Linked DNA regions of Homo sapiens: regions 1, 2, 3, 4, 6 and 7 are each linked to region 5. The links are contacts of gene promoters, found by promoter capture Hi-C in blood cells and fetal thymus (Javierre and others, 2016). All regions are on one chromosome and are shown on one strand. Each heading gives the region's core, a stretch centred on a gene start or on the middle of the fragment in contact. The rest is flanking DNA. Distances are from core to core; before and after follow the strand shown. Region 1 overlaps HNRNPA0 (heterogeneous nuclear ribonucleoprotein A0). Region 2 overlaps ETF1 (eukaryotic translation termination factor 1). Region 3 has its middle 21 kb from the start of EGR1. Region 4 holds the start of REEP2 (receptor accessory protein 2). Region 5 holds the start of BRD8 (bromodomain containing 8). Region 6 overlaps LOC105379193 (a long non-coding RNA gene). Region 7 overlaps HSPA9 (heat shock protein family A (Hsp70) member 9).

The links. Contacts are between HindIII fragments. The CHiCAGO score rates a contact against its expected background, and 5 or more counts as called.
Region 1: a fragment that was not itself captured here is called in contact with the fragment with the promoter of BRD8 in region 5 in 2 of 17 cell types (naive CD4 T cells and non-activated CD4 T cells); the score reaches 6.1 in naive CD4 T cells.
Region 2: a contact is called between a fragment that was not itself captured here and the fragment with the promoter of BRD8 in region 5, in 8 of 17 cell types (erythroblasts, megakaryocytes, neutrophils and 5 more). The highest score is 11.5, in erythroblasts.
Region 3: a fragment that was not itself captured here is called in contact with the fragment with the promoter of BRD8 in region 5 in 3 of 17 cell types (fetal thymus, endothelial precursors and erythroblasts); the score reaches 6.8 in fetal thymus.
Region 4: a contact is called between the fragment with the promoter of REEP2 here and the fragment with the promoter of BRD8 in region 5, in 15 of 17 cell types (megakaryocytes, erythroblasts, fetal thymus and 12 more). The highest score is 19.0, in megakaryocytes.
Region 6: a contact is called between a fragment that was not itself captured here and the fragment with the promoter of BRD8 in region 5, in 1 of 17 cell types (neutrophils). The highest score is 6.9, in neutrophils.
Region 7: a fragment that was not itself captured here is called in contact with the fragment with the promoter of BRD8 in region 5 in 5 of 17 cell types (erythroblasts, neutrophils, M0 macrophages and 2 more); the score reaches 8.6 in erythroblasts.

Annotation. Positions count from the first base shown.
Region 1 is chr5:137,747,088-137,751,015 of GRCh38, reverse strand. It overlaps HNRNPA0 (heterogeneous nuclear ribonucleoprotein A0), which reads left to right. Exons shown (of 1, transcript NM_006805.4): 1 at 1-3,928. Among named protein-coding and RNA genes, the nearest start is that of HNRNPA0, 5.3 kb to the left of the region's middle. The HindIII fragment of the contact is 3,508 bases long and covers 1-3,094 here.
Region 2 is chr5:138,529,893-138,533,578 of GRCh38, reverse strand. The region is part of intron 2 of ETF1 (eukaryotic translation termination factor 1); the gene reads left to right. Among named protein-coding and RNA genes, the nearest start is that of ETF1, 12 kb to the left of the region's middle. The HindIII fragment of the contact is 1,301 bases long and covers 641-1,941 here.
Region 3 is chr5:138,484,659-138,488,598 of GRCh38, reverse strand. No RefSeq gene overlaps it. Among named protein-coding and RNA genes, the nearest start is that of EGR1, 21 kb to the right of the region's middle. The HindIII fragment of the contact is 704 bases long and covers 1,611-2,314 here.
Region 4 is chr5:138,437,078-138,440,504 of GRCh38, reverse strand. It overlaps REEP2 (receptor accessory protein 2), which reads right to left and starts at 1,448. Exons shown (of 8, transcript NM_001271803.2): 1 at 1,265-1,448. The coding sequence starts at 1,296. RefSeq lists an enhancer at 282-815 and a silencer at 1,201-1,620. The HindIII fragment of the contact is 657 bases long and covers 1,187-1,843 here.
Region 5 is chr5:138,176,249-138,179,879 of GRCh38, reverse strand. BRD8 (bromodomain containing 8) reads left to right here and starts at 1,250. Exons shown (of 27, transcript NM_139199.2): 1 at 1,250-1,284; 2 at 2,213-2,309. The coding sequence starts at 1,266. It overlaps KIF20A (kinesin family member 20A), which reads right to left and starts at 768. Exons shown (of 19, transcript NM_005733.3): 1 at 678-768; 2 at 35-220. The coding sequence starts at 199. RefSeq lists enhancers at 939-1,108, 1,249-1,298, 1,006-1,300. The HindIII fragment of the contact is 9,650 bases long and covers 1-3,631 here.
Region 6 is chr5:138,582,293-138,585,710 of GRCh38, reverse strand. LOC105379193 (a long non-coding RNA gene) reads right to left here. Exons shown (of 3, transcript XR_001742900.1): 2 at 1,781-1,883; 3 at 622-916. Among named protein-coding and RNA genes, the nearest start is that of HSPA9, 8.6 kb to the right of the region's middle. The HindIII fragment of the contact is 9,043 bases long and covers 1-3,418 here.
Region 7 is chr5:138,564,945-138,568,567 of GRCh38, reverse strand. HSPA9 (heat shock protein family A (Hsp70) member 9) reads left to right here. Exons shown (of 17, transcript NM_004134.7): 6 at 846-919; 7 at 1,007-1,113; 8 at 1,405-1,567; 9 at 1,850-1,942. Among named protein-coding and RNA genes, the nearest start is that of SNORD63, 5.6 kb to the right of the region's middle. The HindIII fragment of the contact is 2,975 bases long and covers 1-2,884 here.

The sequences.
Region 1 (3,928 bases), core at 91-2,590, 430 kb after region 5:
TAGAGTGGCCTCTAGGATACAGAAAATGATTCTCTGAAATTTTTCGTTGTAATTGTTAAATACTACTCTGCTTGACTTACTCAGTTTTGGTGGGAAGATCTGGGTCAATTGGAATAGTACACCTTTCTCAGGGTTTTCAGTTTAATAAGGTTGTCATATTATTCCCAACATGGGAATATAGTGGCTTCTAAAGTTTGCAAATGAATTATGTAAAAGGATTTTCTGTGTATTAGGAAGGCAACCTGTTCTGTTCATGGTATATTAACACTTCATTGTCATGTGTCTACCCTTAAAATTGCTATTTGTAGTGAAGAAAAAAGCATAGTGGTATTTAGTCACTTCTGGGTTCCTCTTGTCAGTTTATATGCAAACATTTTGGCATGTGGGACTTGGGGAGGAGGGACAATTGGTTGTATGTTTTGACCACTTCCACCTATGAAAATTATCTGAACATTATTCAGATTTAAGAGTTCATGGGAGCAGGTGGTACAGAACCTAGTGTTGAATATAATTTTTGTGCCATGCTTGAATGTATTTTGACGGATTAGCAAAATAAAAGTGAACCTCCTATTTTTCATCTTAATGTGAAGATCTTTGGCATTTACATTCTTTTAAAAGTATAAATTCAGTAGTCATTAGTTGAAAGTGGTTTGAAAGGCTGTTAGAGATGATACAGGTTGAGTATTCCTTATCTGAAATTCTTGGGCCCAGAAGTGTTTTGAGTTTTAGATTTTTTTCAATTTTTGAATATTTCCATTATGTTTACCAGCTGAGCAGCTCTCATACAAAAATGTAAAATCCAAACTGCTTCAATGAGCATTTCCTTTGAATGTCATGTCTGCACTCAAAAAATTTCGGATTTTGGAGCATTTTAGATTTTTTGATTGGAATATCTGTAGTGTTTTTCAGGTCATTTAAAAAGCTCTCATTGGTACTGATTTACTGTATCCAAAAAAAAGCCTGCAAGTGGTTAAGGTTCACAGTGATAACTATCAAATCAGAATGACTATACTGATTGTACCCATTCATCCATTTTTAACTTAGTGATTTGGAACGTTTCATATTCAAATCTAATTTTCATAATTTTTAAGTAAACCTAAAAGATTGAGGATACTTGAGAAATTTGCATTTATGATTTCCTTCAAAACCAGAAGTGATGGTATCAGTTATTGGATTTGTAAACTTAGTTTACCTTTTAAGTGTGCTTAAGTTTTGAGAGTTTGCATTTTAGGTTAAATTTTGTCTGCCCGCGTCTGCTGATTGCAGATAGGCATTTGGATGTTGGATTTGGAGCAGAACTGCATCTAGACTACACGGATTTTACCCAAAAAGACAGCACTTGCACTTAGGCTAAGTGTCTTTCTCCATCGTAACCAATTTATTGAATCACTTTAAGAGTGATCATTGGGGAAATTTTCCTCCTCAGCCTTATTTTGGCCTTTTGAAACAGCAACAAAGACTGCCTAGTCAAATAACTCCTTAGCTGTCCTGCTTTTGAGTGAACTTCATATTTGCCTTGAATGAGAATTTAAATGTTACAAGGTAAAACATTTATTATAAAAAGATATTTGAAAGCTGCTATTTAAAAAGGAATTCCAAAGTAGGAAGACTAGAAGGGCAATTCTCTATTTTCCACCTATTTTTTTTACTTTGATTTGAAGCCAGATGATTTGAACCTTCAGAGAGGGAAAGGATTCAGGAAGACACCTTTGGTAGTTATTCTTAACTGTTTCCTTCTCTATTCAGGCAGGCTTTCTTTGTCTCTTTAATTCTTTTACCACTTTGTATGGTTTACTTAAAAAATCTATCTGAAATAGCTATCATTTCCTGCTATAAAGTTCTCAAGTGTAAACTTTTGCCATTTAAACAGTGTGCTTATTTCCCAGTGTTTACCGTCAATTTCATTGGGTGTTAGGCACCTTTGTGTAAGACAGTTCTATAATGTGGAGGTACACAGCAGTGAGACAAACATGGTTGCTGTCTTCATATACCTTGCGTTCTGGTTGGAATTCAATTTATTTTGAAATGGGAATTCAATTTATTTTGAGATGATGCATCTTTTCCTTTACAGCATTGTGTCACAATCTCATATTGTTCACACCATCAAAATTGGAGTTAGCTCCATTGTCATTGAATGTACATTCTCTGATGAAAATTAAGACTCTTTTCTCCTTAATTGATTACTTTTTAGAAATCAAAGGTGTATTTTGTCTTTGATGCTTACGTTGCAAATGTAATTTGCTTCATAGTGGGTATCTGATTTAATATTTCATAGCCCTTAAGGACGTAAATTTGGGCATCCAATAGACCAAATTCTGTTCCTGACACAGTCACTTTCTAGCACTGCGACCTTGGACAAACTGGCCCGAGCCTCACTTGCCTTATTTGTAAAAAAATAGGCTATGGTAATACCTGCTACATAGGATTGTTGGGCAGATTCAGTGAAAGAATGCATATAAAGAAGGGCTTACTGTAGTCTCTGGTACACAGTAATTTTACTATATGGCCCCTAATGAAGAGGTGGGACAGACTAGCAAAAGGCATACTTTTATATCTTAGTACCCGAGATATGCATGGTCTTTAGGCTTTGCTCTTTACTTGCTGGGTGAGCTTCCATGTGGTAGTTCTCTAAATCACTGCTGCTTCAACTCTAGTAGGAGAGAGATGAATTCTGCTAGCCATCTGTAATGTTTTAAGTATTTGTTAATATTAGGAAGGTATAAATAATGTGAGTGTTGAGGAGAGGTGACTTCAGGTAGGAAGAAGGATCAAGAGAGGCATTGTGGAGCATATAACATTTAACCTTAAAAGATAGGTCTTATAGAGAAGGTGGGAGGAGAAAGAGGGCATTTTAGGTGGAGGACAGATAGGCAGAAACATGGAGCGTATTTGGAGAAGTATGCATATTGGATGCCAAACACTAGGTACATTTACAAATGTTCTCATTGCATCATTCAGTAACCTTCACAGATAAGGTTGCTAAATCTCATGCCAGAAAAGTAACTCCCAAGGACCCCCAGCTGGTGACATGGTAGAACTGAGAGTTGAATCCAAGTTTGACCAATTCTAGTTGTTTCGCTCCTTCTACTAAGCTTCATTGACTTCCAGCTAACAAATGTCTAATTTGTACTAAGATAAAAGAGAGTTGTGAGAAATAAATTGAGAAAATGAAGTTGGAACCAGGTTACTGAGGTCTTTGAGTAGTAGGCTAAGGAGTTTGGACTTAGGGTAGGCAGTAAAAGTCATTAAAGGTTTTTGAGCAACAATAATGGTAGTGAAACTAATTCACAAAGATTAGTCCAGTAGCACTGAGTAACATAAATGGCAGTGGGGGATGTTTCAAAGTGGCAAGTTTGCTAAGACAACTGATGTTAACCAGGTAAGAGAATGAGAGCATGAACAAAGAGCAATGGAAATAGACTGACAAAGAAGTTGAGGTAAGTTGTGAAAGCATAATTGACAAATATTTGGATATATGAAGAATGAGGAAGAGAGAGTAGATTAATCAAAATTACTGTGTGAGAGGATGGTGATGCCACTGGTAATAGGAAGAGAAGATTTAGAGGGAAGATTTGGACATAGTTGAAGATGCTGGTAGCACATTGAAGCATTGTGTCTTGCGCATATAGCTTTACAAAATGGCCATTGTGCTGGATATTCTTTTTGCCCTTCCTGATCTATTTTCCATCTTTATCTCTCTTGTTCTGTGTTCCTGGGAGGCTGACAAATAAAGAACTGCATACTCTCTTTTCTGGCTTTATTCATGGTGGGTTTGGACAGTGATAGAAAAGTGAGGCTGAAATATTTGCTCCTTCTCTTTCTCATATACTTAGCAAGAGATTGTGAGTGGCCACAGCTCTGCTCCAGTGGCCCTCTTATAGCTCTAGGTCTTTTCTGGCTTCTCGTAACTGTCTCCTATTGCTAGATT
Region 2 (3,686 bases), core at 42-2,541, 350 kb before region 5:
AAGTAACTGGTACTACAGGTGCGTGCCACCACATCCAGCTAAGTTTTGTATTTTTAGTAGAGACAGGGTTTCACCATGTTGGCCAGGATGGTCTCGATCTCTTGACCTCGTGATCCGCCTGCCTCGGCCTCTCAAAGTGCTGGGATTACAGGCGTGAGCCACTGTGCCCGGCCAGATTTTTTTATTGGTATTTTATTTGGTAGTTTAGAATAAATCTCTGGTGTTTGCTTAAAAAAGAGTATATAGAGATGATGGTAGGAATTGGCCATTTATTCATTTTTCAAATGTTTGAGCACCACTATGTGCTAAAATGATTTTTGCCCTCAGGATGCTTATATACACTTGGGCTGGGCCCGGTGGCTCACGCCTGTAATCCCAGCACTTTGGGAGGCTGAGGTGGATGGAGAGGTCAGGAGTTCGAGACCAGTCTGGCCAACATGGTGAAACCCTTTCCGTACTAAAAATGCAAAAATTAGCCAGGCGTGGTGGTCCGTGTCTGTAATCCCAGCTACTTGGGAGGCTGAGGCAAGAGAATTGCTTGAACCCGGGAGGCGGAGGTTGCAGTGAGTCGAAATGGCGCCACTGTACTCCAGCCTGGGTTACAGAGTGAGACTCCGTCTCAAAAAAAAAAAAAGAAGCTTATATACACTTACTGTAAACAATGTGTTTCATTGTTTGATACTTGGTGGAAGAGAAAAGAGAAGTTGAGTATCAGGTCCCTGTGAAGACTGGCCATAGGTTATATCAGAATACTGAACTCATGCCACACAAGTTTTAGAAAGGAATGAATTTCTATGGTTCTCCCTTATGATAAATTACAGAGTTTCCAGTGTTCTGGCCATATTATTTTTGGTATAGCTCTTTTGTTCTGTGGAAGATTTGGCAAGTCCTGTAATCCCGTAAAGGTGACCATCATCTGCTACAAAAAATCAGCTCATACTTCAGGACCTAACAGGATTCAAATAAGACTTCAACCCCATCTGATATTACCTCTCTCCCCTCCCCATTTCTAGTTGGGCTGTGCTACTTCTTTCCAACTGGTACTACTGGTGGAGGGGAGGCGATAGTCAAGAACTAGAGCTCCATCTCATTACCATTTAGTGATCAGTTACTATCTGCTCTCCAAGCTAGGCACTTGACATATATGATCTCGTAGAATCCTCATGATCTTGTGAAGTAAGTAGAAACAGACCCACAGGGATTTGTGTGGTTTGCCTTCGGTCACACGGCCATTAAGTGATAGAGCTGGACGTGAGCCTGAATCTGGGCTCCTCCTATTCTGTTCCCATATTAACCCCATATCAAAAAGACCATCTTAGTTTAAAAGTTTAAACTTAGTTTTGCAAATTTGGGAGAAGAAAAATGGAAAACACACAGTGAATAAAACAATGACAGTTTTGGAAATGGAGTAGAAATTGAAGAGGAACTGATTGATTTTCAGGTGGTGATCCATGTAATACTGCTGGCTTAGTGACTTTCCCAGAAATGATCTGGCTGAGATTTATTTATTTATTTATTTTATTTTATTTTTTTGAGGCGGAGTCTCGCTCTGTCGCCCAAGTTGGAGTGCAGTGGCTCGATCTCGGCTCACTGCAAGCTCCGCCTCCCGGTTCACACCATTCTCCTGCCTCAGCCTCCCAGGTAGCTGGGACTATAGGCGCCCGCCACCACGCCCGGCTAATTTTTTTGCATTTTTAGTAGAGATGGGGTTTCACCCTGTTAGCCAGGGTGATCTCAATCTCCTGACCTCGTGATCCGCCCACCTTGGCCTCCCAAAGTGCTGGGATTACAGGTGTGAACCACTGCACCTGGCCTCTGGCTGAGATTTAAATTGAGCTTTGTGAGGCAGGCACAGATGGGAGCTTGAAAAGGGAAGTGGTGAAAAATTTGGCCATCCATAGCCTAGGCACAACCCAGCCATCAAACCCTGGGATGAAAGCTTCTTGGGGAGCATGTACTGTACATCCCGGTTAGGGAGTATAGTAAGCAGTGTCTAAAACGTTCCTGGTCCTAACCTGAAAGTAGTTAACGTGATTTACAAGTGATGACTTGGATGGCAGAGTACTTGAGGGGGAGTGAGTGTTCGGGCTGGTAAAGTTGAGTATCTCTGAGCTGTCACAATTCATTATGGTTGTATTATAGCTAGGTTGTCTTAGGTTTTGGGGGTTTTTTGATTTTTGTTTTTGTGCTGCTATAACAGAATACCACAGATTGGTGTTCTGGTAAGGGCCTGCTCTCTGCTTTTAAGATGGCACCTTGAACGCTGCATCCTTTGTTGGGGAGGAACACTGTTCCTCTCATGGCAAGAGAACAAAAGAGAGATGGCCCACTACTTATAAGCACCTTATTTTATCTTTTTTGTGTGCGCGTGTGACTGTAGCTCTCAGGTCTTATAAGCACCTTATTTTAAATAGCAGCATGAATCTATTCATGAGGGCAGAGCCCTCATAACCTAAACACATTCCATATGCCCCACCTTTCAATACTATTGCAGTGGGGATTAAGTTTCCAACACATGAATTTGGGGGGACACCTTCAAACCATAGCATAGGGTAAATGCAGCAAGCAACTGCTCTGGGTTCTTCTTCTTTGGGTGGAGGTGAGGTTGTGGAGGCTTGTTACCTTCAGCAGACCTAGAGATGACCCTGTGAAGAAAGCAAGCCAGATGCAGTGATTCTCAACCCTAGTTCTGCATTAGAATCTTGCGTATTTGAGGCCGGGCACAGTCGCTCACACCTGTAATCCCAATTCTTTGGGAGGCCAAGGCAGACAGATCACTTGAGGTCAGGAGTTCGAGACCAGCCTGGCCAACATGGTGAAACCCTGCCTCTACTAAAAATAGCCAGGCATTGTGGCGCGTGCCTGTAACCCTAGCTACTTGGGAGGCTGAGGCAGGAGAATTGCTTGAACTGGGGAGGCAGAGGTTGCAAAGATCAGAGATGGCGCCACTGCACTCCAGCCTAGGAGACAAGAGTGAGACTCTGTCTCAAAGAAAAGAATCAGCTGGGTGCGGTGGCTAAAGCCTGTAATCCCAACACTTTGGGAGACTGAGGTGGGTGGATAATTTGAGATCAGGGGTTCGAGACCAGCCTGGCCAACATGGCAAAACCCCATCACTACTAAAAATACAACAATTAGCTGGGCGTGGTAGTGGGCGCCTGTATCCCAGCTACTTGGGAGGCTGAGGCAGAAGAATCACTTGAATCCAGCAGGCAGAAGCTGCAGTGAGCCGAGATCACACCACTGCACTGTAGCCTGGGTGGCAGAGCGAGACTCTGTCTCAGAGAAAAAAAAAATCTTTCATATTTCAAAATTGAGACTGTCTCAACCAAAATCATCACCACCCTCACTCTCCCTATTCAGAAACTATTGAGTCAGGATGGAGGAAGAAGGGATCTTTTGTGTCTGAGCATGTATTCTTTTATTTTGCTTCTTTAGAAAGCTCTAAAAGGATTCAGGGCTGGGAGGTATGCAAACTGAAGTGTTCTTGAGCATTGTTGATGATGGTGAACATTGATTAAGATCCTTGTGGGTCAGGCGGGCACGGTCGCTTGCGCCTATAACCTTAGCTGCTCAGTGAGTCTGAGGTGGGAGGAGTGTTTGGGCCCAAGAGTTCGTGACCAGCCTGGGCAGCCTTGTGAGATCCTATCTCGAAAATAAAAAGAAAAATTAGCTGAGCGTGGTGG
Region 3 (3,940 bases), core at 713-3,212, 310 kb before region 5:
CACTTGCCACCAGAGCATGTATGGGGCGTGGACAGATAGGCATGGGTGATACGGGGCCCTGTGTCTTGGGACTCTGGCTGTCAACTGGACTCTCTCTCCCAACCCGGACTCCAGAAGCAGGAGACTTGAGAGGTCTCCACTACCCTTCCCAAGCCTTGAAATTTTCCTAAGAGACCAAGATGTCTCCATTGAACAGCCTCGGGAGATCTCCTGAAGACCCAAGGAGGTGCTTCTTGGAGAAGAGGCTGGAGAGCCCAGCAGTTTTTTGTTTGTTTGTTTGTTTGTTTGAGACCACGTCTTGCTCTGTTGCCCAGGCTGGAGTGCAGTGGTACCATCTTCACTCACTGCAACCTCCGCCTCCCAGGTTCAAGTGATTTTTCTGCCTTAGCCTCCTGAGTAGCTGGGAATACAGGCACGTGCCACCACGCCAGGCTGGAGTGCAGTGGTGTGATCTCGGCTCACTGCAATCTCTGTCTCTGGGGTTCAAGTGATTCTCCTGCCTTAGCCAGCAGCTGGGACTACAGGTGCGCACCACCATGCTCGGCTAATTTTTTGTATTTTAGTAGAGACGGGGTTTCACCATGTTGGCCACGTTGGTCTTGAACTCCTGACCTCGTGATCCATCCACCTTGGCCTCCCAAAGTGCTGGGATTATAGGCGTGAGCCACCGTGCCTGGCCAAAATGCAAGAGAAACTCCCCAGAATGGGCGCCCATCTCCAGAGTTGGAGGCAAGCACACCAACCAACTGCACCACACAAATGGTCACTAATCTTTGTATTTTTAGTAGAGATGGGGTTTCACCATGTTGGCCAGGCTAGTCTCGAACTCCTGACCTCAAGTGATCCACCTGCCTTGGCCTCCCAAAGTGTTGGCATTACAGGCATGAGCCACCGGGCCCAGCCAAGCCCAGCAGTTTTAATCAGGGAGACCTCAGCCGGGCGCGGTGGCTCACGCCTGTAATCCTAGCATTTTGGGAGGCCGAGGCGGGTGGATCACGAGGTCAGGAGAACTAGACCATCCTGGCTAACATGGTGAAACCCCATCTCTACTAAAAATAAAAAAAATTAGCCGGGCGTGATGGCGAGTGCCTGTAGTCTCAGCTACTGGGGAGGCTGAGGCAGGAGAATGGCGTGAACCCGGGAGATGGAGCTTGCAGTGAGCCGAGATCGCGCCACTGCACTCCAGCCTGGGTGACAGAGCGAGACTCCATCTCAAAAAAACAAACAAACAAACAAACAAAAAAATCAGGGAGACCTCTCATCTATCACTGAAGGCCTTTAGCCAGCCTGGCTCCCATAGCTCACAGAGCTCCTCTGCATGGTGACAGGAGCATGACTCCAAGGCTGCCACCCACGCTGTGGGCCTGAGGGGGTGGGAAACACTTTAAATCCTGAGTCAGAGGAAAGGTTCCACTTCACTTGCCCTGGAACAGAAAGCCAAGGATGCTGCAGTCTGTATGGAGAAGAAGGGGAACTGGAAATTGAGAAAGAATAGTGCTTACTTCCTTCCCTACCATCTCTTATTTTTAAAACATTTTATTTATTTATTTTTTATTCCACCATATGTGATTCATGCTCATTGCAGAAAATACATGTGATGGAAATAAGCTTCATTAGTTTGAGTGTTTCTCCCTGTTTTCTCTCCTCTCACCCATCCACAAAAGGTTTCCAGCTCAGAATTCATGCCCACTCCCAACTCCAAGAGTCTGCTCTCAGCCATCCCCAGTCCGGCATCTTTTGTGATGCAGAATCAAAATGAGTGGGTGAGGGTGCTGGTTAGAGACAGGAGGAGATGGAGAGCTAGAGAGGCTGGGAGAAAGAAGGACTTAGGCAGAGAGGCTAAATCCATCTATATAATAAAGAACAAGGAAGGGGAAGAGAGAAGGGAAAGAGAGGGGGTAGAAAGGAAAGGTTAGGAGGAATTTTATAGAGTACAGTATTGCTCTGAGGCATTAAGTAGACACCCTGTAGTTTTCCAAGTCAAGATTGGATTTATTTTTGTTTTCTGTCTCCAGTATCATAATCCTTTTTTTTTTTTTTTTTTTTTTTTGAGACGGAGTTTCGCTCTTGTTGCCCAGGCTGGAGTGCAATAGCGCAATCTTGGCTCACCACAACCTCTGCCTCCTGGGTTCAAGCAATTCTCCTGCCTCAGCCTCCCGAGTAGCTGGCATTAACAGACATGCGCCACCACGTCTGGCTGATTTTGTATTTTTGATAGAGACAGGGTTTCTCCATGTTGGTCAGGCTGGTCTTGAACTTCCGACCTCAGGTGATCCTCCAACCTCGGCCTCCCAAAGTGCTAGGATTACAAGCTTGAGCCACCGCACCAGGCCAGGATCATAATTTTTTATTTGCAACTCCATGGAGAGCCTTGACCATGTAGACATTCAGAATTTCTTTTTTTTTTTTTTCTTTTTTTGAGACGGAATCTCGCTCTGTCGCCCAGGCCGGAGTGCAGTCACACGATCTCGGCTCACTGCAACCTCCGCCTCCCGGGTTCACGCCATTCTCCTGTCTCAGCTTCCCGAGTAGCTGGGACTACAGGCGTTCGCCACCATGCCCAGCTAATTTTTTGTATTTTTAGTAGAGATGGGTTTTCACCGTGTTAGCCAGGATGGTCTCGATCTCCTGACCTCGTGATCCGCCCGCCTCAGTCTCCCAAAGTGCTGGAATTACATGTGTCAGCCACTGCGCCCAGCTGACATTCAGAATGTCTTTGGGGTTCCATACAGGAAAGTACAAAATATTGTCATTTGACAAATGAAAGAAGAGACTTGAGTATTTATCGTGCTTTCTTTACAATTATGATTTAGTCTAGAAAAATTCTGGCTAACAAATGCAAACGGAATGATAGAATTATAAAATCACCCTTTGGCCAAGTACATTGACTCATGCCTGTAAACCCAGCACATTGGGAGGCCAAGGCGAGCAGATCACTTGAGGTCAGAAGTTCAAGACCAGCCTGGCCAACATGGTGAAACCCCATCTCTACCAAAAATACAAAAATTAGCCGGTTATCATGGCGTGCACCTGTAGTCCCAGCTACTCAGGAGGCTGAAGCAGGAGAATCGCTTGAACCTGGGAGGAGGAGGTTGCAGTGAGCCGAGATCACGTCATTGTGCTCAGTCTGGGTGACAAGAGCGAAACTCCATCTCAAAAAAATAGAAAAACAAAAAATAAATAAAATCACCCTTTTAACCCCTAATGAGATAATAGATTTAGATAAGGATCATTGATCATCGGAGATTTCTGTAACCATTGCATGAAAGGTATAGAGAAACTTTGTAATGCCAGTGATACTTGGACCCATCAATCAATCTGGGTTTTTTTCAGAGACAGGGTCTCCTATGTTGCTTAGGCTGGAGTGCAGTGGCTATTCACAGGTGCAATCATAGCTCACTATAGCCTCAAACTCCTGGGCTCAAAGGATCTTCCTGCCTTAGCCTCTTGATTAGCTGGGACTACAGGCACCTGGCTGATTAATTCATTTTAACATCACGCACACAAAAAGAGAACTAACCAAGAGAATTGAAAACATATGTTTGTACAGAAACCTGTACATAATGTTCACAGCAACAAGTATTATTCAAATAGCTAAAAAGTGGAAACAATTCAAATGTCCATCAACTGATGAATGGATAAATAAAATGTGGTGTGTCCATATAATGGAATATGATTCAGATATAAAGAGGAGTGAAGTACTGAGACATGCTACAAAATGGATGAACCTTGAAAACATTATGTTCAGCGAATGGAGCCAGACACAAAAGGCCATATATTATTTAATGCTATGTATATGAAATATCCAGAACAGGCAAACTGGTAGAGACAGAAAGTAGATTAGTAGTTGTCAGTGATTTGGGGGCAGGGGGTGGTAAGGAATGGAGAGTGTCTGCTAACAGGTACAGGGTTTATTTTGGGGATAATTGTAATGTTCTGG
Region 4 (3,427 bases), core at 199-2,698, 260 kb before region 5:
CCCTGAGAGAGGCAAAGAGGCTTATTCCCCCATGTAAACACCACAGGGACAGGGCTCAGGGGAGGGCCCCGCTGGTGATCCAAGTACAGAATGCAGACAAGACACAGGCCGGGAAAGAAGAGGACCGATGCCCTTTGGGGCTTGCCCAGGCAAGAGAGAAGCAGCCACCCTGAAGGCCACATGGAGGCGTGAGGCCCCTCCATTCCCCCTGGGATGGGTGGGGGAAGAGAAGGAGTCTAGAGTAAACCAGGACAGAAGCACTTGGCCGGCCCGGCTGTACCGAATGGGAAGAAGGGAGCAGGGTGGGGCTGCCGGTGTCAGTCCCCAACGGTGGAGGCCGAGGGGCAGTGTCCTCATTAGGGCAGGGGATAGCTCCGAGAACCACGAGGAGCCCCTGTCAGGCTCAGCCCCTTGACAATGTGTGGCTGTCGCCTGTTTCCACATGGACAGGAGGGATACTTCCAAACCGGCTGGTGCAAGTGGAGTGCGGAGCAGAATCCTCAAGGACAAAGTCTGGGCTCGTGGGGAATGGTGTGTGTTCCCTCCTGGGGCCCGGGGAGGTGCCAGAGACACAGCTCCACAGTGTGGCTGGCAGCCTGGAATGAAGGCCACGGAGCGTCCTCCCCCAGCGGGGTCCACAATCCCAGGCTGAGCACACACATCCCCTCTCCCAGTTACCTCTCACACTTTGTCCTCCGAGCATTTCTGCTTCCCGATACCCAGACTTCCTCCCTAGGGGGCCTAAGGGCATATGCCCTCGTCCCCAGTCTCCTGACAGTGAGTGGAAGGGAGAGACCAAGGGGCCTGGTGATGGCTCTGAGCTGCGGAATGATGATGAGGCCCTGCCTTGCTCCACTCTCTTCCATCACCCTGTTACCTCCCCCAGAGGGACAGGGCCCGGGTCTGAGGATCTCCTCCAGCCCAGACCTGCTAGGTGGGGGAGGGGACGCGCCTGCCTCCCCTTTTAAATCAAGCCGTGCTGCTCAGCCTCTAGGATGGGCGCAGGAGCAAGGACGGTAGAAATAAAAGAGGTTATTAATAAAGAATGTGGGTGAGGTCCCTGGGAAGCCAGGCCTGCCACGCTCCCCTAATATTCCCCCCTCCAGTCCTGGGTGCCACATCTCCATGTCTCTGGGGGCCCCAAATAAGGACGCAGCGCCTTTAGGTGACTCTGCTGCACGAAGCTTCGGAGAAGTCCACCCGGGCTTTAACACCCCCGCCCTCCATCACAGCCCGCATCACCCCCCGCCGCCGCCGCACTCACACCACCAGGCGAGAGATGATCCAGGACACCATGGCGGGGCCGGGCGCGGCGCGGGGCGGGGACCCGGCCCGGCCGAGGATGCAGCTGCCTGAGGCCGAGCGGCGGCGGCGGCGGCAGCAGGAGCCGCAGTAGCAGCAGCAGCCGCTGCAGCAGCCGCCGCGGGGGCAGCGGAGCGCCCAGCGCCGCCGTTAAAGGGGAGGTCCCTGCCGCAGCGGCGGGCCGTGGGCGGTGGCGGCTCTTAAAGGGGAGGCCGGGAGGCCGCCGCGGCGGCGGCGGCGCGCCCCCGCCCCGGCACCTGCTGTGGCCGGGCATGCGCCTCCGACCCTCAGTGCCCTGCCTTCCTCGAATCGCTTGTTCATCTTTCTTGGGTTTCAAGCCCTAGGCTGTTGTCGTGGAGGTCTCCATGGTTACATCCTGAAATCGACCCCTGCCCACCTCCTGCCCTGCCCACACCAGGCGCTTACTGTGTGCCAGCCCCTGTGCTAAGAGCTTCACTGCGTTGCCAGTGAATCCTCTTGACCACCCTATAAGGCAGGCGCTATAAAAGCCCTCATTTTGAAGATAAGGGAATGAGAAGCTTAAGGCTCAATAATCTGTTGAGAGTCACAAAGCCACCAAGTCATGCTGCTAAGATGACCCCAGGAAGCCTACTTTAAACAGGTTACATCCCCCAACTGCTGACTAGCAAACTCTCCTCATTACAGGCCCTGAAGACATCCACCTGAGCTCCTGAGTCACAGGTACAGCCGCACCTGTCCACCCCACTCCTTCTCACCCCGTTGAAAGAGGATCTCCCCTGACCAGATGATGTTTTGTTTTTTTGAGACAGGTCCTCACTCTGTCGCTCAGGCTGGAGTGCAGTGGCACAATCTCAGCACACCTCCTGGGCTTGAATGATCCTCCCGCCTCAGCCTCCCGAGTAGCTGGGACTACAGGCCCAAAACACCACCAGCTAATTCCTGTTTTTTTGTTTTTTGTTTTTTTTTGCCAAGATGGGGTTTTGCAATATTGCCCAGGCTGATCTCCAACTCCTGAGCTCAAGCGATCCACCCGCCTCAGCCTCCCAAAGTGCTGGGATCACTGGTGTGAGCCACCGGGCTGCTGGTCTGCTTTTTTAGGTTGTCAGCTCCTAAGCTTTGCAGCGGAACAGAGCTTTATGCTCTCAATGTGGTTACTGACAACAAAGGGTCAACCTTCTTTTCAAACAGAGGGGCTGCGAGAGGGTCCTGGGGCTCCAGTTCCACCCCCATCAGCAAGCACTAGTGGCAGTGAATGTCCTGATTCTAAAGACATTTATATCCAGAATGTAGGCTAGCCTGCCTCCTGATCTTCAGGAAAGCAACCAACCTCCAACCATCCACCAACACCCCCAGCCCTATTGCTCTCCTTTCCTGTCCCATTTTAGAGCTTCTGCATTCCTCTACCCTTTATGTTGAGTTGTAATCCTTCGGGTGACCACAGCATCAACCTGTGCCCATCTGGGCTGAAAGGACACATTCAGAACTGTGTATTTCAAAGAGTCATGGTCTTATTCAAGCTCAGTATCCCTGAACAACACAATGGTCTATTTCTAACCTGGTAAATTATATTTCCAGGTTCAAACACTTTGGAAGATGTTTCCCAAAACGTTCCAGAAAAGCAGCCTCTGATAACCCCTCTTGCTATTCTTTACAACTTCCTCTCCAGAAAACATCTCCTAATTGGAATGCAGTCTGTTATCACCCCACAATGAAACACTTTAATTACTGCTTGATAAATCCCACATGAGTGTCTCCCACCATCTCTAAGGTGGATCTATGGCCACACGTTTCATGTAGGCAGCCAGGCTGCCTGCTTAAGAATCCCACCACAGACTGTCCAACTTTGCTGAGGCCACACACCATGACCCTTCCCCCCAGACTCTGCCACAGGAAGGGAGGACCCCAACTTTCCCACTCCATTCACAAAGCATAAAGTATGGGGAAACATGTCTCTCTTTCTACCCTCTAATTCATGTGGCCCCTTCCCCTTACCCCCAATTCCCCAAACCATACTGACCTCACCCTGGCACTTTCCTTTTTTCTAACATGGCACAGTCTCAACAAGCAAAGAAAAATATCTGGGTGTAGCACAGTCATGAAGACCTGGAAATGAATCCCCCACCTCCAACCCAACTCCCAATCT
Region 5 (3,631 bases), core at 1-2,500:
ACTTTCCGCCCCAGCCACTCCCCAGTTCCTTTACCTGCTGCTTGTCCTCTAGGGAGGTAGAGACGACAGAGCAGTCTGATAGCAGGTTCTTGCGTACCACAGACCCCAAATCTGCAGCTGTGGACTCAAACATGGGAGAAACTACGACATCGTCATCGGACAGCAAGCCCGCTGGCGGAGAAAGGATCCCTTGCGACATGACGGCAGGGGCAGCCTAGGTCTAAAAAGAGACCAAAAAGTGGGCAGGGAGAAGAACCTTTAGGGACAGAAGGGGCCGCGAATTTTAGGTAATAAGTCCCTTGCCCCAGGACACCGTGTCCCGCTTCCTACTTCTTTTCCCCTCCAATTATCGGCAAAGGGGAAGGGAATGAGAGAAGTTCACTTAATGAACAATTGAGAGAAGTTTGAGGCGGCATTTCTGAACGCGAACAGAAGTCCACAGACATCTGGCTCCAAAAGCAGAAGGCTACGCCTAAAGTAGGGCACCTCGCCCGCCGGTGCTGTGGAGGTGGTGTCAGGATCCCTCGGCTCCTTCTCTAACCTCACCCCAAGGACCACCGTGAGAACAGAGATGCAGCATTAAGAGAAAAACAGATGGCTGCAGCTCCGATTTCTTAAAGCCTATTCCGCGCGGGCAAGAGCTGGTAACCCGGGCTCCAGCACAGCCGCACACTCACCCGAAGACGTGCCACTTGCTCCTCCTGGGATACTGGCTTACTCACACCTAGTCGCCGAAGCTGGACTTTCGCAGCCGCAGAGCACAACTCCGCCCACGAGGTGCAGCTTTGTTACAGATACAATATTTTAAATTACGCGCTGCGTTCGTTCGGCCAATCAGATAGGGAAGCCTGCAGCTACCAATCCGCGTAAGGAAAGGGGGCGGGCCTGACTGGAATTCCAGTCGTTCGCTTCTGCTTGACCTCTGAGTTCTAATGTGGGTCCGGGTTACCAACTGTCGTGGATTCGCACTTATTTTGCCTGGGATTCTTCCAACTTAACCTTTTTCCTTGAACCTTAGACATTTCTTACCTAAGAGCCTAAAGGAAATCTTGAGGCTTCAGCAGCCAACTCCTGTCCTTCCTTAGCAACAATCTTAACAGGAGTGCACAGGGTAACTGGTTTAGGGTGCTTGCTTTGTCTTAAGGGGAAAAACGACATTTCCCAGGAGGCACCGCGAACCAACGCCGGTACACTATTTCCCAGAATTCCAGGGTTTCGGCCCTTCCAGACCGTCTCTCCTCAGGGTTGGAGACTTCGGGGCCAAGATGGCGACGGGAACGGGCAGTGAGTATCTGAGCAGGTTTTGCGTGAAAGGCCTTTGTAGATCCGAGGCTAGGCACCATATTTTTGTTACACGCTTAGGGAGTGGGAGAAGTGGGTTGCTTGAGAGCCCAGGGTTTTCAGAGACCTGCGCTCTACAGCATCGTGAAGACCAACGTTTGGGGGCCCAGAAATCTGGGGTCTTGTTTCTCAGGGAGAGAGCGGAGGTGTGAGAGAAGCAGCTTAGTGAATCCTAGTGTGTTAGGAACTCTGCGGGTTAACCGTAAAAGCACTCTAGAAACTTGGGCGTGCAGACGAAAAGATGTTATGAGCCAGACGGAGTAACCGGCACCTCAAAGAGCCATTCATTTTTTTGTCTGACGTTTGTGAGGCAGTGGAAGTGGGGTCTTTTAACCATGAGCTTTTCTTGCCACTCAGGAAATTGCATCTCGGGGATTTCAGCCATTTTTCTTTTTTTGGACTGAAAAGCTCTTTTACCCCCGACATTTGGAGTAGAGGATCTGAGAGAAGTAAACAAGTTTATGCTAAGAGGGAGGCGGGGTAGTAGGAGGGGCTGGCCGCTCGGGTTCCTGGGAAATAAGCCCTGAATAAGTTCAAACTGGAATAAAGTCCAGTATTCTTAAAACTGGGCTTTTAGGGAGAACTGCCTAATCTGACATTCCCTGTTTCTTAATAAAGCGGAGCTTCAAGCCATGGCGTTTTAAGAAATAAAATGTTAATAATTCACATGCAACGAATAGGTACCCCGGTCACTGGTGATATTTCACTTGGAGAGGTGAAAATCAAGATTTGGTTATAGTAGCTCACTTTGTCCTAACAAGTTGGGATGTTTTGTATTAGGCTTTTAGTCCTCTTTTTGGGGATTTTGGAGCTTAGCACTACAGTCTCAGTGGTTGTTTCCAAGGCTTTTTTTTTTTTCTCCCTTTCCCAGAACACAAGCTGCTAAGCACTGGCCCCACAGAGCCATGGTCCATCCGAGAGAAGCTATGTTTAGCATCTTCTGTCATGAGAAGTGGCGATCAAAATTGGTAAGGTATCTAGGATGTCAGCTTTTCTGGGTCTTAGAAATTGTTAGATACTCTTTCACATCGGTAGATTTCTATAGTTAATCATATTAAGCTGTAAGTAGACTTTCTTTTCTTTTTCTTCTTTTTTTGAGACTGAGTCTCCTTCTGTTGCCCAGGCTGGAGTGCAGTGGTGCGGACACGCCCAGCTAATTTTTGTATTTTTTAGTAGAGACAGAGTTTCGCCATGTTGGCCAGGCTGGTCTCGAACTCCTGACCTCAGGTGATCCCCCCACCTCGGCCTGCCAGAGTGCTGGGATTACAGGTGTGAGCCACTGCGCCTGGCCATGCCTGGCTAATTTTGTATTTTTAGTAGAGACGGGGTTTCACCATGTTGGCCACGATGGTCTCAATCTCCTGACCTCATGATCTGTCCGCCTCGGCCTCCCAAAGTGCTGGGATTACAGGCGTGAGCCACTGCCAGGCCTATTTTTTTTTTTTTTTTTTTGAGACAAGATTGCACTCTGTGGCCCAGGCTGGAGGGCAGTGGTGTGATCTTGGCTCACTGCAACCTCCATATCTCAGGCTCAAATGATCCTCCACCTCAGCCTCTTGAGTAGCTGGGACTACAGGTGCACACCACCATGCCCAGCTAATTTTTTTTATTTTTTTGTAGAGATGGGGGTTTCATCATGTTTCCTAGGCTGGTCTCGAACTCCTGCGTTCGAGCGATCCGCCCAACCTACTGGGATTACAGGTGTGAGCCACCAGGCCAGCTGTATTTCTTTTTTTAAACAGCTTTATTGAGATATAATTCACATACTATAAAATTAACCTACTTAAAATGTACAATATAATGGTTTTTAGTATATTCACAGTTGTGCAACCATCACCACAATCTAATTTTAGAACATTTTATTCTAAGAAAAACCCCTTACTCCTTAACTGTCAGTCCATGTTGTCCCCTCCTCACCACCCCCAAGCAAGCACTCATCTACTTTCTATTAATTAATTAATTAATTTGAGACAGAGTCTCACTGTCACACAGGCTGGAGTGTAGTAGTTAGATCTTGGCTCACTGCAACCTCCGCCTCCCAGGTTCAAGCGATTATCGTGCCTTAGCCTCCCAAGTAGCTGGGATTACAGCCATGCGCCACGAGTGGCCTGGCTAATTTTTGTATTTTTAGTAGAGATGAGGTTTTGTCCAGGCTGGTCTTGAAGTAATGCACCAGTCCTGGCCTCCAAAAGTGCTGGGATTACAAGTGTGAGCCACCATACCCAGCCAACTCTCTTGTCTCTGTAGATTTGCCTATTCTGGATATTTCATACAAATGGAATGATACGTG
Region 6 (3,418 bases), core at 455-2,954, 410 kb before region 5:
TTCAGGGATCAGGGAAGGAAAGATATTATTACTGATAGATTCTTTGAGGGTGAAGGGAGGGTCTTAGGAAACTGACTTCAACTTAAAAAAGAAAGGTAATTTGGTTTTAATCTTCAAAAAAAGTGCAGTTCATTTTGAAAAAAAATCACTGAGACTCACATTTTTGTGTTTAACAACAACCTTGAAATTGGTCTGCCTCAGAGGACAGCATGATTCTGGGCTACCTTAGCATGAATGATTTATGACATTCATGAACTTGGCAACTACATCAGTTTTTCTAAACCTGGCACCCAACACCACCTGCATGTTAAGTGAAGATTTATGATTTATAAAACTCACCTCATTATGCAGAGGTACATGAATTGTCTTATATCTGTAATCTATAACTCCCAAGACAGATAAGAAGGCAGCTATGTCACAGAATTTATGGCTCCTACCCACTAAAGCTGAAGTTTTAGAGAAAAACTGCAGAAATAACTGGCCCTTTGGAGAAAAATAGCTTTAGCTAACCATTACACCCCCAAATGATGAAATGGCTATAACCCACCATTATATCTTACATGAACAAAGAGGCTAACGGCAAAAGTCACTTTAATCACAGCACTGAACTATGTCCCCCTTTTGAATGCTGCGGTAATACACAGAACCTAAGTGACTTCTTGGAAATATCAAGCACTCTGTCAGTTTAATTTTTTCCCCAGTTTGGTGTCTGAGACCTCTTGCTGAGATTTCTCATCAAGTGGCCCAGCCAGACCCACAGACACGGACTTCAGGGAAGACAATTCAATACCTGGTTGTGTCTAATGGCTTCCTGCATATACCCCTAAAGTGAAGAAGATCACATGTTGATTTGAATTCTGAAAAGCAGCTTGTTCTCAGAGATATTTTAGAAATGCAGCCTCTCTCTCCCTATACCCTGAAAAAATAAAAAATAAATAAAAACTTGGAAGAACAGAGCATTCAGTGGAATAAACTTATGTAGCTTATGGAATAAGATTATATAGCTAGCCATTAAAAATGACAAGTATATGGGACCAGGTTGACATGCAGAAATCTTTAGACAATAGTAAACAAAATAAGCAGAACACAAAATGATAGAAAAAAATGATGTTTCAGTCCTAGAGATTTTCAATGGTATAAAGCTAAATGAAAAACAATAAAACCCTAAATAATCTATTTTCAAATTTCCCTACCAATAAGGAAATAGATATATACACATGGCTGCTGACTGCCCTGAATCTGAGAAGCACCCCACGCCTCCCTCCTCTGCAGAGCTCTCCAAAGAACATTCTACTCTCTCTGGCCTTTGAGTACTCTCAAAGAACACCAGCACTCAGATACCTAGGTCCACCGAAGAAAGCTGAAAATGTAAATGTCTTTACGTAGCAGGAGGAAAAGTACTCGAAAAAAAGAAGGTAGGAAACCCCCTTCCGTATTTGATAACTAAATAAACCTTTTAGGGAGATTGCTCTTTGCTATTTACTTAGTAACTTGATTTCTGAAATGTGTCTGGGATTCTCCCAGTTCTGACTTTGAGCTCTAGTGCCAGTGTGGTCACTCTAACTCGTGAAAATGATACTCCACTCACAAAATGGTGTCCTAGAACAAGAGGACAATATCAATGAACCACAGATTACACACCAGAAAAAGTGAAACGTCTTTGGCAACTGGGACTATACTCGAGAGCAGATAGATGCACAGACAGACCCCAGGGAAGAATTGTATTTGGGTTCAGGGACTCAGTTACCACTCCTCCTTAAGCGGCCTGTTGACACTTTACCACTCAAACACAGATGCTGTTCTCCAGGGCTCTGGGTGCTGATGTTCTGTTGGCTGCCTTTAATCCTGAAAGTGACTTCCCCAGTTCAGGCCAGGGATTCATGCTGTAATGGAATGAGAGAGAAGTGGGCCAGTACCATACACATGTACACCAATGCACACACCCAACACAACCTAGGACAGAGCAGACTTCCTTTGGGAAGCCATGCAAAGTTGCAGAGCACAGGCAGGATGGCCTCATTCACGGCTTCTACCCATTGGCACGCTTAGAAACAGTTTATTCTGGCAGGGTGCAGTGGCTCATGCCTGTAATCCCAGCACTTTGGGAGGCCAAGACGGGTGAATCACCTGAGCTCAGGAGTTAGAGACCAGACTGGCCAACATGGTGAAACCCCGTCTCTACTAAAAACACAAAAATTAGCTGGGCATGGTGACGCATGCCTGTAGTCCCAGCTACTTGGGAGGCTGAGGCACAAGAATTGTTTGAGCCTGGAAGGTGGAGGATGCAGTGAGTCTTGGTCGTGCCACTGTACTCCAGCCTGGGCAACAGAGCAAGACTTTGTCTCAAAAAAAAAAAAAAAAAGAAAAGAAACAGTTCATTTTTTTATGGAAGAGAGGTGTTCATGAGACCCTTATGCAAGCAGATCCCCTTTTCCCTTGAAGAACTCGTCAAAGCGATCCTTCCAGGTAAACTGGCTTGCTTCAGGTCATGGCACACACACACACAAGCCCTCTCACCCAACCCCTCAACCACTAGTTGAATAAAACAAGCAATTGGCACTTAAACTAAAGGCTGGGCCTGTAAGGTAAACCAGTGACCCATGTGACACCTTGGCACTTTTCTGGGCCTTTACTCTGCCCGACAAGGCTTTCCATATGGGATGATGTAATCAAGCCACACAGAGGAAGGCAGCAAGGGTGGTACAAGCAGCCCCAGGGATACTTTGGGGTACAGGAAAGAAGTATTTAAATCTATTTCTATTTTATCTCTTTCATTTTTGTTTTCTATTTTTATGTATTTGTAATAATAGTACTATATACACATATGTAGTTTATAAATACATGAACATACACATAATGGGAGGATGTGCGCCAATATTTTTCTAATAGGGACATGTAATGAAAAAATTTGGAGACAAGAAGACACCACAGAGTTTGGGCTATTTCTAAAAAGACGTGGTCCTTAATCTCCACCCCACCGACAGAATCCCCCTCTATTAAACATGCAGATTCCACGACCCATCTCAGACCTGAATGTCCAGAGGTGGGATACCAGTGCTCTGCATGCTTAAAGAACCACCTAGTAATTCTGACTGCTACTGAAGTTTGGGTACCATTGCAGCACAAGAATTAGAGAAGCTAACATAAAAAGGCTGAGCTAGAAAAAGGCAGAGTCAGTGCAGATGAGAACACCAGAAATCCATTTCTAAGAAGAAAACAGGTAACTGGCCGCTACAGCTCCTGATGGAGCCTGACTAAGAAGTCCCTGTTCTTCCAGCATTCTGGCTGTATGGGTATTGAGACAATGGCTTTACTTTCCCAACTAGTCTTCCATTAAACTCTCATCTCCTAAGGAAACCTGGGTATTTCCTCTCTTGACAGTTGAGGAACAGGAATGGGGAAACTGAGAAACTGTCTT
Region 7 (3,623 bases), core at 148-2,647, 390 kb before region 5:
ATGTTGAAAGAGTGATCTTAGGGGTTTCTGTTTTTTGGGGTTTTTTTGTTGTTGTTTTTTGAGACAGAGTTTCACTCTTGTTGCCCAGGCTGGAGTGCAGTGGCACAATCTCGGCTCACCAAAGCCTCCGCCTCCCGGGTTCAAGCGATTATCCTGCCCTCTCCCTCCCCCCCAACGTAGCTGGGATTACAGGCATGCGCCATCATGCCTAGCCACTTTTGTGTTTTTAGTAAAGAGATGGGGGTTTCTTCATGTTGGTCAGGCTGGTCTCCAACTCCCGACAAATCAGGTGATTCATCCGCCTCAGCCTCTCAGAGTGCTGGGATTACAGGCATGAGCCACCGTGCCTGGCCGGCCGATCTTGGGTTTGTTTGTTTGTTTTGAGACAAGAGTCTCGCTCTGTCGCCCAAGCTAGAGTGCAGTGGTGCGATCTTGTCTCACTGCAACCTCCGCCTCCCAGGTTCAAACAATTCTCCCGCCTCAGCCTCCTGAGTAGCTGAAATGACAGGCATGCGCCACCATGCCTGAATAATTTTGTATTTTTAGTAGAGATGGGGTTTCTCCATATTGGTTAGGCTGGTCTCAAAACTCTCAACCTTAGGTGATCTGCCCGCCTCAGCCTCCCAAAGTGCTGGGATTACGAGTGTGAGCCACCGTGCCCGGCCTGATCTTGGGTTTTTAACCAGTGTATTTACTTGGAGTGTTTCCTGCAAGGACATATTAGGTCACTTACCAAAAGACTGAAGAATGTTGTCTGTGGCTGCAAAAGGATGACACAGGTTGTTGGGCTATATTAATAATTCTGTTCTGACAGAATTCCATGATTGAATTTCATTCTTTTCCAGAAAATTACTTGGGGCACACAGCAAAAAATGCTGTGATCACAGTCCCAGCTTATTTCAATGACTCGCAGAGACAGGTGAGGTCAATTAGCATTCTTATTCACAAAAAGTAAGGTGCCTGGGATGGAAGGGTACAAAAATGTTTTTCTCTTTGTTTTCTCTAGGCCACTAAAGATGCTGGCCAGATATCTGGACTGAATGTGCTTCGGGTGATTAATGAGCCCACAGCTGCTGCTCTTGCCTATGGTCTAGACAAATCAGAAGACAAAGTGTAAGTTTGTGCAGTAAATTTCTCACCTGGATGTGTGAAACTAAAGTGTCACTTAATTTTTTAGTAATTGAGCCTTTTACAGTGCTTTTACTGATTTTAAGTCTGTATTGTCTTTGTTTTTTCATTTCAAAACCATTCTTTTCTTTTCTTTTGGGCCATGGTAATTTAACTAGTACATATCTCAGGGAAATAGCTTAGATTATCTGTATTTGGTTATTGAAATTTATATCCTGGTGATAGGTTTTGTTCTTAAGGATTTCTTTTCTTTTTTTTTTCACAAATCATTTACAGCATTGCTGTATATGATTTAGGTGGTGGAACTTTTGATATTTCTATCCTGGAAATTCAGAAAGGAGTATTTGAGGTGAAATCCACAAATGGGGATACCTTCTTAGGTGGGGAAGACTTTGACCAGGCCTTGCTACGGCACATTGTGAAGGAGTTCAAGAGAGAGGTGAGTTACCAATGTGGTTAATATGTAGACGTTGGGATATTGAGAAATTCTTTGTTCAGATTGCTCTTTGCTTTGTTTACGAGTTCAGTTCAACCCCCTTATTCTAGACACAGATACTCTTTTCAGAATATTTTTTTTCCCTACACATTAAGGGTAATAAAAAGTAATTCATGCTTATATATAAAGGTATGACTCCATTTTGTGTTGTTCCACCTTATTACTGCAGTTTATTTATCACCTCACTAATGCTGGTGTTTGGTGTTCAATGTCTTCACTTTATAGACAGGGGTTGATTTGACTAAAGACAACATGGCACTTCAGAGGGTACGGGAAGCTGCTGAAAAGGCTAAATGTGAACTCTCCTCATCTGTGCAGGTGAGACACGGAAAATTCGAGCAGTCTTGATGGATATTTTCAGCCGGAGCTTATTTAAAATAAATAGTATTTTCTAATTGGCCTAATGTCAGTTGAGTTTTTTTTGTTTGTTTGTTTTTTCAGTTTTCTGGTTTCTAGAGACCTTTGCCATGAGCACAGGGACAGTAAGGTCTTTAGTTTCTTTATGAGCTGAAATTTTTTTAGCCACTCAAATCAGTTACATATACTGGAGCTAAATAATGTGTGAATGATGTGCTGGGTGTACTTGTTTGCCTTTCAGTTAAAGACATTTATTTTAAAACCTGCTCTGGCAGTGTTTAAAACTAGAATTACTAGCTTGGAAAAACTGCTGTCTTAACTGACAATATTAAATAACCTCTCTCCTTGTGAATTGGAGAGTCTCTGAGTGTCTTTTTTTTTTTTTTTTTTTTTTTTTTGAGACAGAGTTTTGCTCCTGTTGCCCAGGCTACAGTGCAATGGCGTGATCTTGGCTCACCGCAACCTCTGCCTCCTGGGTTCAAGTGATTTCTCCTGCCTCGACCTCCCAAGTAGCTGGGATTACAGGTGTGCACCACCATGCCTGGCTAATTTTTGTATTTATAGTACAGACAGGGTTCTGCCATGTTGGCCAGGTTGGTCCTTGGACTCCTGACCTCAGGTGATTGACCTGCCTCGGCCTCCCAAAGTGCTGGGATAATGGGCGTGAGCCACTGAGCCCGGCTAATTGTCTCTCACTTAATAATTTGAAAAATTAGCTGGTCATAGTCTATACAACTGTGGTCCCAGCCACTCCAGAGGCTAAGAGGATTGTTTGAGCCCAGGAGGTTGAGGCTGCAGTGAGCCGTGATCACACCATTTCACTCCAGCCTGGGTGACAAATGAGACCCTGTGTCAAAAAATGACAATAATTTGAATCACCAGTCTAGAAAAAGAGCTGAAGCTTGTGCAAGTTTCCGTCTGTGAGCATCAGATTTACACAGCCTCTTTGTCAGTTTGGTTAGCTCCAGTTCTGAGAGGTGAAACTTGTCTTCACCACCAAGAATAGAATTATATAAACCATTTTAGATCTGTGTTAGAGACCCATGAAGATAGAAAGCAGCAGATCTATTTCCGGTGTCTTGGGTGACAGCAGGAAAAGCAGAGCGGTGACACCTTTATTTTGATCACCCACAAGGGAAGAGGTATTTATGATGGTTGTCACTGTGGTTGCTGCTAATGAACCTTCCCCTCAAACCTGGATTTTTTTTTTTAAGTGGCTGTGAGGAGTGACATAGTTATACACACGCATCCATGGTCTTGCTGATGTTACTTTGCCCCTGCTATCATGGAGTGGCAGAACATTGCAACGTTGGTTAGGGTTGAGGTTGAAATACCTGGCACTGCCAGAAGATAATTCTTCCCAGGGATTTGACATTTGGGGTAGGGGATGCGAGGTGTTGGAAGAGATTGGTTGGTTTTAATTAGTGTGGCTGCATCCTATTGATAGACATTTTGATTGTTTTCCAGTGTTTATTATAGCAAGATGTATTGAGCATCCTTACACATTCAGTTTTGCATAGGTGATTTTAAATCTATAGAATAAATTCTTAGCGTTTATTACCCTCATGCAGATTATATTGTGGTTTGGAAAGATGGACATTAATTAGAACAGATTAGTAAACGTTAAACTAGAAGTGATACA